Linked DNA regions of Homo sapiens: region 2 is linked to region 1. Evidence: promoter capture Hi-C in human tissues and cell types (Jung and others, 2019). All regions are on one chromosome and are shown on one strand. The core of a region is centred on a gene start or on the middle of the fragment in contact, and the rest is flanking DNA. Distances in the headings are between cores, read along the strand shown. Region 1 holds the start of HIPK4 (homeodomain interacting protein kinase 4). Region 2 overlaps BLVRB (biliverdin reductase B).

What was found. The method cuts DNA at HindIII sites, captures the fragments that hold promoters and counts their contacts. A contact is called where the count stands out against the background at its distance.
Region 2: a contact is called between a fragment that was not itself captured here and the fragment with the promoter of HIPK4 in region 1, in 9 of the 25 tissues and cell types used here (IMR-90 fibroblasts, bladder, dorsolateral prefrontal cortex and 6 more).

Annotation. Positions count from the first base shown.
Region 1 is chr19:40,386,758-40,393,911 of GRCh38, forward strand. It overlaps HIPK4 (homeodomain interacting protein kinase 4), which reads right to left and starts at 3,424. Exons shown (of 4, transcript NM_144685.5): 1 at 2,681-3,424. The coding sequence starts at 3,145. PRX (periaxin) reads right to left here. Exons shown (of 7, transcript NM_181882.3): 7 at 7,011-7,154. RefSeq lists enhancers at 2,777-3,326, 3,327-3,876. The HindIII fragment of the contact is 19,093 bases long and covers 1-7,154 here.
Region 2 is chr19:40,450,678-40,457,831 of GRCh38, forward strand. It overlaps BLVRB (biliverdin reductase B), which reads right to left. Exons shown (of 5, transcript NM_000713.3): 4 at 687-815. Among named protein-coding and RNA genes, the nearest start is that of SERTAD3-AS1, 9.7 kb to the left of the region's middle. The HindIII fragment of the contact is 7,951 bases long and covers 146-7,154 here.

The DNA.
Region 1 (7,154 bases), core at 2,174-4,673:
ACACAGCAGGGGCTCAGTAAATAATGAGTGAATGAATGAATGTATGTATGGGCTTTGAGTTCCTTCATTCTCTTTCCATCTCTTGCTTGTATCTCTCTCTCTCTGTCTCTCATTTGAGACAGTGGCTCACCCTGTCACCCAGGCTGGAATGCAGTGGCGCAATCTCGGCTCAAGGCAACCTCCACCTTCCACGTTCAAGCGATTCTCCTGCCTCAGCCTCCCAAGTAGCTGGGACTACAGTCACATGCCACCATGCCCAGCTAATTTTTGTATTTTTAGTAGAGATGGGTTTTCACCATGTTACCCAGGCTGGTCTTGAACTCCTGGGCTCTAGTAATCCTCCCACCTCGGCCTCCCAAAGTCCTGAGATTCTAGGCATGAGCCACTGTGCCTGGCCATTTGTACCTCTCGTTCTTTCTTTGCAACTGCCTCTCCATCACTTGCCTGTCTCTTGTCTCTCAGTGTCTCTCTCTCTCTTTCCATCTCTGTCTCTGTGTCGTCCACTAGGAAGACACCTCCCTGAAGTCCCGGTCCTCTTCTGTCTTCCTCTTCAGGCACTGTTCACACTCGTCACAGGCCTTTGACACATGACAGGTGCTTGGCCAACAGCTGCGGAACCAACATTGCGAATGGCCGAAAGCCTTTGTCTCTCCCCATGCCTCTGGTGGAGCTGTCTGCCATTTTCACCCTGAATCTCCGTGACTCTCTCTTGGCCTGTTTCTTTTTCTTTTTCTTTTTCAGGTGGCTTCACTCTTTTGTCCAAGCTGGAGTGCAGCGGCATGATCTCGGCTCACTGCAACCTCCGCCCCCATATGGGTTCAAGCGATTCTCCTGCATCAGCCTCCCAAGTAGCTGGGATTACAGGTGCACCCCACCACATCTGGCTAAGTTTTGTATTTTTAATAGAGACAGGATTTCACCATGTTGGCCAGGCTGGTCTTGAGCTTCTGACCTCAGGTGATCCACCTGCCTCAGCCTCCCAAAGTGCTGGGATTACAGGCTTGGGCCACCACACCTGGCCAGCCTGTTTCCTTCTCTGAGTTTTTCTGCTTTTCATTCAGCCATTTCTCAGTTTTTTGTTTTTGTTTTGTGTTGAGACAGAGTCGAGCTCTGTCGCCCAGGCTGGAGTGCAGTGGCGTGATCTCAGCTCACTGCAAAACCTCTGCCTCCCAAGTTCAAGTGAGTCTCCTGCCTCTGCCCCCCAACTAACTGGGATTCCAGGTATGTGCCACCACGCCTAGCTAATTTTAGTTTAGTTTTTTTTTTTTTTTTTCTGAGACAGAGGGACTTCCTCTGTCGCCCAGGCTGGAGTGCAGTGGCGTAATCTCAGCTCACTGCAACCTCTGCCTCCCGGGTTCTAAGCGATTTATCTGCTTCAGCCTCTGGAGTAGCTAGGATTACAGGTGCCCGCCACCACACCCGGCTAATTTTTATACTTTTAGCAGAGACGAGGTTTCACCATATTGGTCAGGCTGGTCTTGAACTCCTGACCTCAGGTGATCCACCCGCCTCGGCCTCCCAAAGTGCTGGGATTACAGGCGTGAGCCACCGCACCTGGCCATCCCTCACCTTTCACTTGCAGAAAGCAGTATCATGAAATGGTTATTAATTGCTATTCTGATCCCAGAGTGCCAGGGCTTCAGTACCCAAGAGGCTGAGTGACCCTGGGCACTTAGTCTATGTTTGTGGAATGAATTCATTCCTTCCACAGAGACAGTGGGGGTGATAATGCCGGCCAGGTGCTGTGGATCCGTCCTGTCTGTCCCCTGCTGTGTTTGTGGAAGTCCCTGCTTCCCTGGGTCTCTGTCCTTCCACCTCTTGGGGCAGAATAATCCACCTTTTTCTGTCTCTGTGTCTCTGGCAAGCATTCATTTAGCACTGGCTCCATGACTGCAGTGCTGGGAGATGTCAGGGACACAGCGATGATTAAGTCAGCCCCAGCCTTGCCCTCAGGGTGCCCCTGGTTCAGAAGCATCCAGACAGTATCAAACTCAAAAGCAGACAGAGGACTGGGCATGGTGGCTCACACTTGTAATTCCAGCACTTTGTTGAGGCCAAGGTGGGCAGATTGCTTGAACTCAGGACTTTGAGACCAGCCTGGGCAACATGATGAAATCCTGTTTCTACCAAAAAACACAAAAATTGGCTGGGCGTGGTGGCTCACGCCTGTAATCCCAGCACTTTGGGAGGCTGAGGCAGGTGGATCACAAGGTCAGGAGTTTGAGACCAGCCTGGCCAACATGGCGAAACTCCATCTCTACTAAAAATACAAAAATTAGCCGGGCATGGGTGGCGGGCACCTGTATTCCCAGCTACTCAGGAGGCTGAGGCAGGAGAATCGCTTGAACCCGGGAGGCGGAGGCAGTGAACCAAGATCATGCCATCATCACCCCGTCTCTGATAAGTACAAAAAAAAAATTAGCTGGGCGTGGTGGCGCATCCCTGTAATCCCAGCAACTCGGGAGGCTGAGGCAGGATAATCACTTGAACCCAGGAGGCGGAGTTGCAGTGAGCTGAGATTGTGCCACTGCACTCAAGCCTGGGTAACAGAATGAAACTCCGTCTCAAAAATAATAATAATAATAATTTTAAAAAATTAAAAAAAAAATCTAGGGCTGGAAGAAGCTGGGAAAAAGACAAGGAACTAGGGACGCAGCCACCCTAGACGACCCCTACTCACCTTGACCCTGAAGGGGCAGCGGGTCTGGTCCACCAGCATGATGTTCTCAGGCTTGAGATCAGCGTGGATGATAGCCAGCTCCTTGAGCCGGGCCAGGGCTGTGAGCACCTGCAGGGTGACTGTACGGATGTGGCGGGCGGGGAGGGGCGCGAAGTTGTTCTCCTTCTGGAACTCGAAAAGGTTTTGCTCCAGCAGCTCAAAGACCAGGTAGAACTTGAGGGCGTCATGGAAGAACTCAAGGAAGCGGATGACGTGGGCCTCTTCAGGGTCTAGGCCTCGCATGCAGTGCAGCAGCTTCAGCTCGTTCTTGATGATGCGGTTGCGGTAGGCGTCATTCTTGAGGATCTTGATGGCCACCATCTCGCCCGTGCTCCGCCGCCAGCCCTTGGCTACCTCCCCGAAGGTCCCCTTGCCCAAGACCTCGATGATGTCGTAGCAGTCAGTCTCCGACTGGATGGTGGACATGGTGCCGCTGCTGCCAGACACCGCCCTGCCCAGGCCCCTGTACCACTGGCTCTGCCGCCCAGGCCTCCCGCCTGGCTGCTGACACAGCAGGCCCCCCAGTGGGGGAAAGAGAACCGCACTCGTGTCTCCTCCTATGAGGTTGGCCCCTGCTTCCCTGGCACCCCCAAACCCCCAGGCCACACTGTCAGTCTGCCAGGGGCTGCACCCCTCCCCAGAAACCCTCCTGGCTTGGGATGAGGGGCCCCAGGCCCCACCGAATGGGTTCCAGCGCTGTTGAGTGGCTCTGGTTCTGTTGTTGGAGACCTGAGCCCTGGCTGGAGTGGGGGTGGGGTACCAGGCTGGGCCCCCTCCCCCGCCCAGTGGCGGAATCTTGCAAAGACCAAACAGGTGAAGTGTTGACAGAGGGGGGTCTAATCGTGGGCCTTGGGCATACAGGAATGGGGATAAGGCAGGAGTGAGGAAAGGTGGGCTTCTTGAGCTTGGGAGATGTGATGTGTGTGTGTCTGTGTTCAGAAAACTCCTGTCCCAGTCTGTGGCTACTGTGGGGTGAGGTTGTAAAAGGCCCTGAATGCCAGGCTAAGGAGTTTGGATTCTGTTCTGAGGGCACTGGGGAGCCACAGAAGGGCTTTGAGCAGGGGAGGGCAGGGTCAGATATGAGTGTCAGAAAGTTACTGTATGAAAAGGGATAGGTTGGAGCGGGTAAGAGTGGAAGCCCCAAGCCAGGGAAAGAGTCCAGGACAGGGCACAGATGGGAGAGGTTGGGGAGGAGAGGGCGAGGCCAATGGATGAGACACTCAAAAGGCCAGGAGAAGCAGCCGTGAGACCGACGGTTTGAGGGAAAGGCGGGAGCTGTCTAAGAACGGGCCTAGGGCTCTGGGATGAAGGGGCAGTCCCCGAGAAATGGACATGGATAAGAAGCAGCTTGGGGGAGATGTTGAGGCCAAATTAGAAAATGTATTTATTTTTGGCTGGGTGCGGTGGGTCACGCCTGTAATCCCAGCACTTTGGGAGGCCAAGGAAGGCAGATCATAAGGTCAGGAGATCGAGACCATCCTGGCTAACACGGTGAAACTCTGTCTCTACTAAAAATACTAAAAATTAGCCAGGCATAGTGGAGGGCGCCTGTAGTCCCAGCTACTCGGGAGGCTAAGGCAGAAGAATAGCTTGAACCCGGGAGGTGGAGGTTGCAGTGAGCCGAGATTGCACCACTGCACTCCAGCCTGGGTGACAGAGCGAGACTCCATCTCAAAAAAAAAAAAAAAGTGTTCATTTTTATTTATCTTTTTAATTTTTTGTAGAAATGGGGTCTCACTATGTTGTCCAGGCTGGTCTCAAGTGATCCTCCTGGCCTCAAGTGATCCTCCTGCCTCAACCTTCCAAAGTGCTGGGATTGTAGACATGAGCCACCACTCCAGCCAGATTAGAATATTTAACAGCGGGCCGGGCTCGGTGGCTCATGCCTGTAATCCCAGCACTTTGGGAGGCTGAGGCAGGTGGATCACCTGAGGTCGGGAGTTCGAGACCAGCCTGACCAACATGGAGAAACCCCGTCTCTACTAAAAATACAAAATTAGCCGGGTGTGTTAGCACATGCCTGTAGTCCCAGCTACTCAAGAGGCTGAGGTCGGCAGGCTGAGGTATGAGAACTGCTTGAACGCGGGAGGTGGGGTTGCAGTGAGCCAAGATTGCGCCATTGCACTCCAGCCTGGGCAACAAGAGTGAAACTCCGTCTCAAAAAAAAAAAAAAAAGTAAAAGAAAATGTAACATCAAAACATTTAAACAAGGATGAAGTTCTTTAGAAGTCTTATCTGATCCTTACAACATACAAAGTAGGGATTTTATGGAAGAGAAAATCAAGGCACAAAGAAGTTTTTAAAGTGCCTGGCCAGGAGTGGTGGCTTACGCCTGTAATCCCAGCACTTTGAGAGGCCAAGGTGGGCGGATCACCTGAGGTCAGGAGTTTGAGACCAGCCTTGCCAACATGACAAAACCTCAACTCCACTAAAAATACAAAAATTAGCTGGGCATGGTGGTATACACCTGTAGTTCCAGCTACTTGGGAGGCTGAGATCGGGAGGCTGAGGTATGAGAATCGCTTGAACCTGGAAGGCGGAGGTTGCTGTGAGCCAAGATTGCACCACTGCACTCCAGCATGGGCAACAGAGTGAGACTCTGTCTCAAAAAATAAAAATAAATAAATAAATGATAAAATAAAATGCCTAAGGTCACTCAAGTGACTGCCAGAGACAGCCTCTGACCCTAAGCAGCCTGGCTCCAGCGCCAAACTCTGAACCACCACCCACACAACCTCCTAAAAACCAGGAGACCTCTGGAGAAGGGGTGCAGAAGCTGCTGGGTCCCCAAGGGGATGCAGGAGAGAGTTTGGGAGTTGTCAGCACAGAGAGGAGGCGTGGAAGCCATGGGGGAGGGTGATGCACCCTAGGGAGGGTGTGGGGGTGGACAAGGGCCCGGGAGGAACCTCCGGTGCCCAAGGAGCACGGGGAGAGAGAGGTGTGGGGAAGAGGAGCAAGTGTCAGGAAGATCGAAGGGGCCTTGAAGAGTCAGGACAAGAGAGACAAAGGAAACCCTCAGGCGTGGCCACGGGGAGGTCACTGCTGACACAGACAAGGTAGGAGGAAAACCCCAAATGCTGGGGTCTTGGAAATGGGGGTGCACTGTGAGTGTAGATAACTCCTGCCATGTTTGGTGGGGGCAAAGAAAAAGTGTGTGGTGAGACAGTGACCTGAGGAGGGCTGGCTGGAAGGGACAAGGTACTCAAGTGAGTGGGGGATTCTGCCAGGCCCCTCATCCACTGAGACAGGATAGGGAGATGTGAGGAGAGTGGGGGGCTGTCGGGGCGAGACTTGGGACTGGATATTGAGTCTCCTTAGTCCAGTGTGGGACATCACAGAGAGACATGGAGGAGGCTGGAGGCCCTGCTGGGAGCCTCAGGACTTAGATCCTGAATTGGGATGGCAGGGATGGATGGCCCATGGCCCCTGGGAGCTGAGACCAGCACTGACAGGTGCTGAGGACCCTGGGACCTAGTTCCAAGAGGCGGCTGTGTTTCTGGGGTAGAGGCTTTGAGGGGACCAGGAGCAGCCTTCCTGGGTGGGGCCAGAGTGGACAGGGCAGTCAAACCAGCCAGACAGGAAAGAGAAGGCCAGGATGTGCAGAAGTGCCCTCACCGGCAGAGGGCAGGTGGGGAGCAACCAGCCTGGTAGGAGTGGGTCCCCCAGGACAGGCAGGCTTCCTGGCAGAGGGGTCCCGAAGCTGTGCTCTGCCAGGGAACATCCCAGAGTCCTCTTTAACAACCCCTGGGAATTCTCAAGGGCTAGGGACGTCTCCCTTCCCACCACGGCCTGTCCCAAGGCCATCCTGAGTCTTTGTTTTTGTTTTTGTTGAAACAGTCTGGCTCTGTTGCCTAGGCTGGAGTGCAGGGGCACCATCAAGGCTCACTGCAGCCTCGACCTCCCGGGCTCAAGTGATCCTCCCACCTCAGCCCCCCGAGTAGCTGGGATTACAGGCACGGGCCACCATGCCTGGATATTTTTTGTATTTTTTGTAGGGATGAGGTTTCCCTATGTTTCCCAGGCTGGTCTTAAACTCCTGGGCTCAAGCAGTCCTCCTGCTTTGGCCTCCCAAGTGCTGGGCTTACAGGCATGAGCCACTGCGCCCAACCCGCCCTGACTCTTCTCAGACCAGGTATGACCGGTTTCTCCCCTCACACCAGAGGTTCCCCTCAGGCCAGGCTCAGGCGACCCCTAGAACCTCCTCTTTGGAGACTGCCTTCTCTGCATCTCCCCTATACCCACTCCTGCCCCTCCCTGCCCCCTATGCACACAGAGGAGACAAATACATGGCTACTTCCAGATTATTTTATTCACATGGCTTGGTGGGGTACAGGCACTCCTGCCAGAGAGACAGGAGCAGGCCTCCCTGCCAGCCCTGGTCAGTCACCCACCTCCCGGCCCTCTTAGGGTTAGTGCTAGTTATCACACACACAAC
Region 2 (7,154 bases), core at 2,871-5,370, 65 kb after region 1:
GACCACAGGTGTGTGCCACGACGCCCAGCTAATTTTTTTTTTTTTTTGTAGAGATAAGTCTATGTTGCCCAGGCTGGTCTCAAACTCCTGGGCTGAAGAAATCCTCCCGTCTTGGCTTCCCAAAGTGATGAGATTACAGGTGTGAACCACCATGCCTGGCCTATGTATCTATCTATCTATCTATCTATCTATCTATCTATCTATCTATCTATCTAATCTCTATCTCCCATACTAGAAATGTAAGCCATGGCGGGGCATGGTGATGCAGGCCTGTAATCCCAGCTACTCAGGAGGCTGAAGCCCCAGAATCCATAGACATAATGGATTAAACCATTAGCCAGTGGTAATCCCCTCAACCTTCAATCCCTCACCACTCCCCAGAGGTGAAAGTCCCAACCCTGTAATCCAGCCTTAGTCTTTCTGGTGACCAGACCTGAAGCTGCCTAGGGGCTGCCAGCTCTCAGTGAACTCATTAGCATAGAAAAAGACATTTACCATTTTGGAGATTCCAAGGATTTTAGGAGTTGTATGCCAGGAAACAGGGACAAAGGCCAAATATATATGTCACAATATCATAGGAAGGTTTGCAATTTTAGGGTGGTCAGGGAAGGCCTTGCAGATCTCCCCAGAGGGCAGGAGGGAACAGGCAGATGGCATTGGTGCCACCAGGTCCCTGCCCTGCTTACCTATGTGTGGCGGCATCACAGCCACGTACTTCAGGCCTGATTCCCGCAGCACCTTGTGCATCCGGATGTGGTCATCAGTCACAGCCTGCAGTCGTGGGGGCACCTTGGTAGGGTCCCAGAGCAGGAAAGCTGGAGGGAACACAGGGCAGGATCAGCCTGGGCTCTCTTGTCTTTTTTTTTTTTTTTTTGAGACAGAGTGTCGCTTTGTCACCCAGGCTGAGTGCAGTGGCGCAATCTCGGCTCACTGCAACCTCTGCCTCCCGGGTTCAAGCAATTCTCCTGCCTCAGCCTCCCCAGTAGCTGGGATTACAGGTGCACACCACCAGGCCTGACTAATTTTTGTATTTTTAGTACAGACAGGGTTTTGCCATGTTGGCCAGGCTGGTCTCAAACTCCTGACCTCAGGTGATCCACCCTCCTCCACCTCCCAAAGTGCTGGAATTACAGGCATGAGCCATTGTGCCCAGCCAAGGGCTCGCTTGTCTTGATGCCAGGACAAAACCCTGCCATGGCTGACCATTGCTTTCCAGTTGCAAAAACAGGGGAGTCCTCTGGGGCTCCTCTTTCCCTCACACCCCAGGTAAGAGCTGTCTGCTGATCACAATAATTCCAAATCTGACCTCTTCTCACTCCGCCTGGTCCTGTCCACTGTTACCTCTTGCCTGGACCAGCCCAGCAGCCTACTCCCTGGTCTCTCAGCCCCTCCTTCCCTCCTCCCAAGGAGCCCGTGAACACCCCTATCAGTTCACATCCATAGCTCCATCTCACTCAGGGTAGAAGCAAAGTCCCCATGGCCAGCCCTCAAGGCCCCACCTGATATGGCCCCATCAGCCCTCTGACGTCCTTGCCTACTCTGCCTACCACTCTCTCTTACACGCCTCTGCTCCAGCCAGGTTCTGCCTCCCAGCCTTGGCAATGTCTGATTCCTCTGCCCCTGATGCATTTCCCTCTCTTTTTTATTTTCTCTGAGACAGGGTCTCATTCTGTTGTCCAGGCTGGAGGACAGTGGCGTGAACACGGCTCACTGCAGCCTTGACTTTCTGGGCTGAAGTGATCCTCCTGCCTTAGCCTCCTGAGGAGCTGGGACCACAGGGGTGAGCCACCAAACCCCACTATTTTTTTTTTTTTTTGAGACAGAGTTTCCTTCCCTCTTGCCACCCAGGCTGCAGTGCAATGGCATGATACCGGCCAAGCCTGGCTAATTTAAAAAATTTTTTTAGGCCGGGTCTGGTGGCTAACCCCTGTAATCCCAGCACTTTGGGAGACTGAGGAGGCCAGATCGCCTGAGGTTAGGAGTTCGAGACCAGCCTGGCCAACATGGTGAAACCCCATCTCTAGTAAAAATACAAAAGTTAGCTGGGCATGGTGGTGCATGCCTGTAGTCCTAGCTACTCAGGAGGCTGAAGCTGGAGAATTGCTGGAACCCTTGAGGCGGAGGTTGCAGTGAGCTGAGATCGCGCCACGGCACTCCAGCTTGGGAGACAGAGCAAGACTCCATCTCAAAAACAAAGCAGAACAAAACAAAACAAAACAAAAAAAACACAAAAATTAGCCAGGTGTCGTGGTGCATGCCTGTAATCCCAGCTATTCTCAGGAAGCTGAGGCAGGAGAATCCCTTGAACCTGGGAGGCAGAGGTTGCAGTGAGCCGAGATCGTGCCATTGCACTCCAGCCTGGGTGACAGAGCAAGACTCCGTCTCAAAAGAAAAAGAAAAAAACATTTTTTTTGTAGCGATGGAGGTCTTACCAAGTTGCCCAGGCTAGTTTTGAACTCCCGGGCTTAAGCGATCCTTCCATCTCGACCTCCTAAAATGCTGCGATTACAGGTGTGACCCAGGACCCTTTGCCATTTCCCTCTCGTAGCCACATGGCTCCCTGTTTTCTTTGCAGACTTTGCTCAAAGGTCACCTTTCCATGCAGCTTTTCTTGACTGTCCTGTTTAAAATTGCAAAATCCTGTCTCCCCCAGCCCAGTTTACCAATCCCTTTTCTTGGGGCCTTGTTTTCTCCCTAGGACCCTTCCCCTGCCACCACACGCTAGAGTTATCCTGTGACTCTATCACATTTCCTGCTCCAATCCCAGCCCTTAGAAGCATCTGGAACATTGTAGGTACTTACTAAATATTTGTTCAGGAATTAGCTTTCAACAAGCTATAACTTGGCCAAGCTACACCAGCTGACATTTATAGAACTTTTACCTCAAGCCAAGAACTATGCTAAATATTTTTAGGAGCAGTTTGGTGAATAGTTAAAGAGCTTGGGTTTTGCCTAAAGTCAAGTACTGGATCGACCACTGGCCAGCTTCTTGTTTCCTCATGTGCAAACTGGGATGATATAAATTGTTCAAAGGCTGGGCAGAGTGGCTCACACCTGTAATCCCAGCACTTTGGGAGGCTGAGGTAGGAGGATCAGTTGAGCCCAGCAGTTCTAGACTCACCTGGGTACGATGGTGAGACCTGTCTCTACAGAAAATTAAAAAATTAGCCAGGCGTGGGGACCTGTGGTCTTAGCTGCTTAGAAGGCTGAGGCGAGAGGATCGCTTGAGCTCAGGAGTTCGAGGCTGCAGTGAGCTGTGATTGCACCGCTGCACTCCAGCCTGGACAACAGAGCAAGACCTTGTCTCAACAAAAAGAAATAAATAAATAGTTTGAGTAATGTTAGTGGTTATAAAAAGGTGTGTCACAGAGACCAGCCTGGGCAACAAAGCCAGACTCTGTCGCAACAAAAAAATTTTAAAAATTAGATGGGCATGGTGGCACATGCCTGTGGTCTCAGCTACTCAGGAGGATCCCTTGAGCCTAGGAGTTGGAGGCGGTAGCGAGCTATGATGACATCATTCTCACTGCAACCTCCACCTACAAGTTTCAAGTGATTCTCCTGCCTAAGCCTCCTGAGTAGCTGGGATTACAGGCGTGTGCCACCACACCTGGCTAGTTTTTGTATTTTTGGTAGAGACGGGGTTTCACCATGTTGGCCAGGCTGGTCTCGAACTCCTGACCTCAAGCGATCCACCTGCCTTAGCCTCCTAAAGTGCTGGGATTACAGCGTGAGCCACTGCGCCTGGTCTAGGATTTCCTCTTTACAGATGAGAAAACTGCGGTGCAGAGTGTGAAGTGGGTTTTTGTCTGCAGCCTCCAGTCTCCAGTTCACAATCTCAAATCCAGTCTCTAACTTACCCCTAGTTTCTTTTTTCTTTTTTTTTTTGAGGCAGTCTCGCTCTGTCACCCAGGCTGGAGTGCAGTGGCACGATCTCAGCTCACTGCAAGCTCCTCCTCCCGGGTTTACGCCATTCTCCTGCCTCAGCCTCCCGAGTAGCTGGGACTATAGGCACCCGCCGCCACGCCTGGCTAATTTTTTGTATTTTTAGTAGAGACGGTGTTTCACTGTGTTAGCCAGGATGGTCTCAATCTCCTGACCTCGTGATCCACCCACCTTGGCCTCCCAAAGTGCTGGGATTACAGGCGTGAGCCACAGCACCCGGCTGTTTTGTTGTGTTTTGAGACAGGGTCTTGCTCTGCAGCCAAGGCTGGAGTGCAGTGGTGCCATCACGGCTCACTGCAACCTCTGCCTTCTAGGCTCAAAGGATCCTCCTACCTAAGCTTCCCAAGTATTGGGGACCACAGGTGTGTACCACCACACCCAGCTAATTTTTTGTATTTTTTTTTTGTAGAGATGGAGTTTTGCTGTGTTGCCCAGACTGGTCCTGCACTCCTGGACGCAAGCAATCCGCCCACCTTGGCCTCTCAAAGTGCTAGGATTACAGGCGTGAGCCACTGTGCCTGGCCTTACTCTGGGTTTCTTTCTAATCCTCTCAGATGCCTCCATAAAAAACAATCCTCCCCAAGCCCTAATGGATAAACTCCAAGCTCCTTAGATGACAAAAATCTTTCTAATCTTTTACCTTGACATTTGAATATGGAGGGAAGATTAAACTCTAATAATTAGAGGCTGGAAGATAATTAAAGTGTGACAATAGCACTGTGGTGCTGGAAGAGAAAAGTCCTTTTTCTTGGGACTTGCCGAAGGTGTCTGTGGGTGTGCAACTCCATTTCAAATAGTTTAGGAAGTCTGGGCGCAGTGGCTCATGCCTGTAATCCAGCACTTTGGGAGGCCAGATCACTTGAGGTCAGACCAGCCTGCCCAATATGGTGAAACCCCATCTATACTAAAAATACACACACACAAAATTAACCAGATGTGGTGGCAGGCACCTGTAATCCCAGCTACTCAGGAGGCTGAGGCAGGAGAATCCCTTGAACCCAGGAGGTGGATGTTGCAGTGAGCCAAGATCACGCCACTGTATTCCGGCCTGGGTGACAGAATGAGACTCTGTCTCAAATAAAAACAAACAAACAAAAAACCCAAATAGTTTAGGAGAACAAAAACAAAATCTATTTGTGTATGTGTATGTGCATAGATAAACCAATTACAAAACACAATCACAATTTTAAAATCAGGAATATGGCTGTTGGCCAGGTGCAGTGGCTCAGGTGTAATCCCAGCACTTTGGGAGGCTGAGGCTGGTGGATCGCTTGAGTCCGGGAGTTCGGGACCAGCCTGGGCAACATGGCGAAACTCTATCTCTACCAAAAATACAAAAATTAGCCAGCCTTATAACCCGGTCTCAAAATAAATAAATAAATAGATAGATAGCTACAAACTTAAAAATAAAAAAAGAAAAGGAATATGGTTGTTCACACGACTATTAACTTTTCTGTTTAAAAATTTTTATAATAAAAAGTTAAAAAGTATATTGAGGACCTACACATTGAAGTAAGCAGCCATGATGTATGTAAGCTAACTTCAAATGGGTCAGAAAAAAAACATTGTGTGTCTGTGAACAGAGGACGGTAGGTGTACTGGTGTCCTTTCAATTTTTCTGTAAGTTTAAGATCATTTCCAGATAAAAAGTTAAGCTGGACTCAATGGCTCATACCTGTTGCCCCAGCTATTTGAGGGGCTAAAGTGAGGGGATTCCTTGAGCCCAGGGGTTCAAGGGTACAATGAGCTATGATCAGGCCACTGCACTCCAGCCTGGGTGACAGAGCGAGACCTTGTCTCTATGTTTGTTTTTTTTTTAATGAAAAAAAAAATCCTGGCACACCTAAGACTTTAATATTTAGAAAACAATCTAAACAAAAAAAAATGAGAAAAAAGAAAGCAAATTAAATCAATTTTACAGGTTTGTCTTTTTCATGGAAGCAAAACTTAACCAGTTAAATTGGTTTTTAAGACATGGGAGAGTCTGGACGTGGTGGCTTATACCTGTAATCTCAGCACTTTGGAAGGCTGAGGTGGGAGGACTGCTTGAGGCCAGGAGTTCAACATCAGCCTGGCCAACATGGCAAAACCTTGTCTCTACCAAAAATACAAAAATTAGCAGGGCATGGTGGCAGGCGCCGGTAATCCCAGCTACTCAGGAGGCTGGGGCAGGAGAATCACTGTGGGCCACGATCTTGGTCCCAGGCACCATGAACCCGGGAGGTGGAGTGGCGGTTGCAGTGAGCTGATACCACGCCACTGCACTCCAGCCTGGGCAATGGAGTCAGACTTCATCTCAAAGAAAAAAAGACATGGGAGAAAAAAACAAAACTAAAATTAACAGCAGACCATTCCAATCTGCGAACAAAAGTAAGACCTTGTCTCTACAAAAATATCAAAAAATTAGCCAGGTGTGGTGGTGCATGCCTGTAGTCCCAGCCGCTTGGGAGGCTGCAGTGGGGAGGATCACTTGAACCCAGACTGAGGCTGCAGTGAGCCATGGTTGCACCACTGCACTCCAGCCTGGGTGACAGAAAGTCTCAAAAAAAAAAAAAAAAAGTGAACCATTCTGAAATCGCAAGTTTACTCGTGTATTACTTTTCCATTTCAGAGCTTGAGGAAAAAAGCCATAAATGATTTTGCTTCCTACCCTCCAACTAGGTCTGGCCTCCAGGCCTCTTTGCTTGCTTTGTCCTCTGCCTGGAGTGTAATTACAATCATCAGGCAGCCCTCCCTCATGCCACTTCCCTTTCCAGGGAGGCAATTTGTGTCATGAAACACACTTGAGGTCAGGAGTTCGAGACTAGCCTGGCCAACATGGCGAAACCCTGTCTCTACTAAAAATACAAAAATTAGCTGGGCATGGTGGTGCACACCTGTAGTCCCAGCTACCTGGGAGGCAGAGGCAGGAGAATCACTTGAGGCAGGAGAACCACCTCCGGGAGGCGGAGGTTGCAGGGAGCCAAGATCACGCCACTGCACTCCAGCCTGGGCATCAGAGCAAGACTCTATCTCAAACAAACCTCAAAATAACTATAAATAAATAAATAAATAAATAAATGATTATACAGGGCAACTATTTGCTTAATGTCTGTGTCCCCATAATCGGGAGCTCTGTGAGGGCAGAGACCTAGTGTCTATCCACAGCTCTATCACTTCCTCTGGGAGGCCTACCCTGACCTCTCTCAGCCTAAGTCGGACGCCTCCTC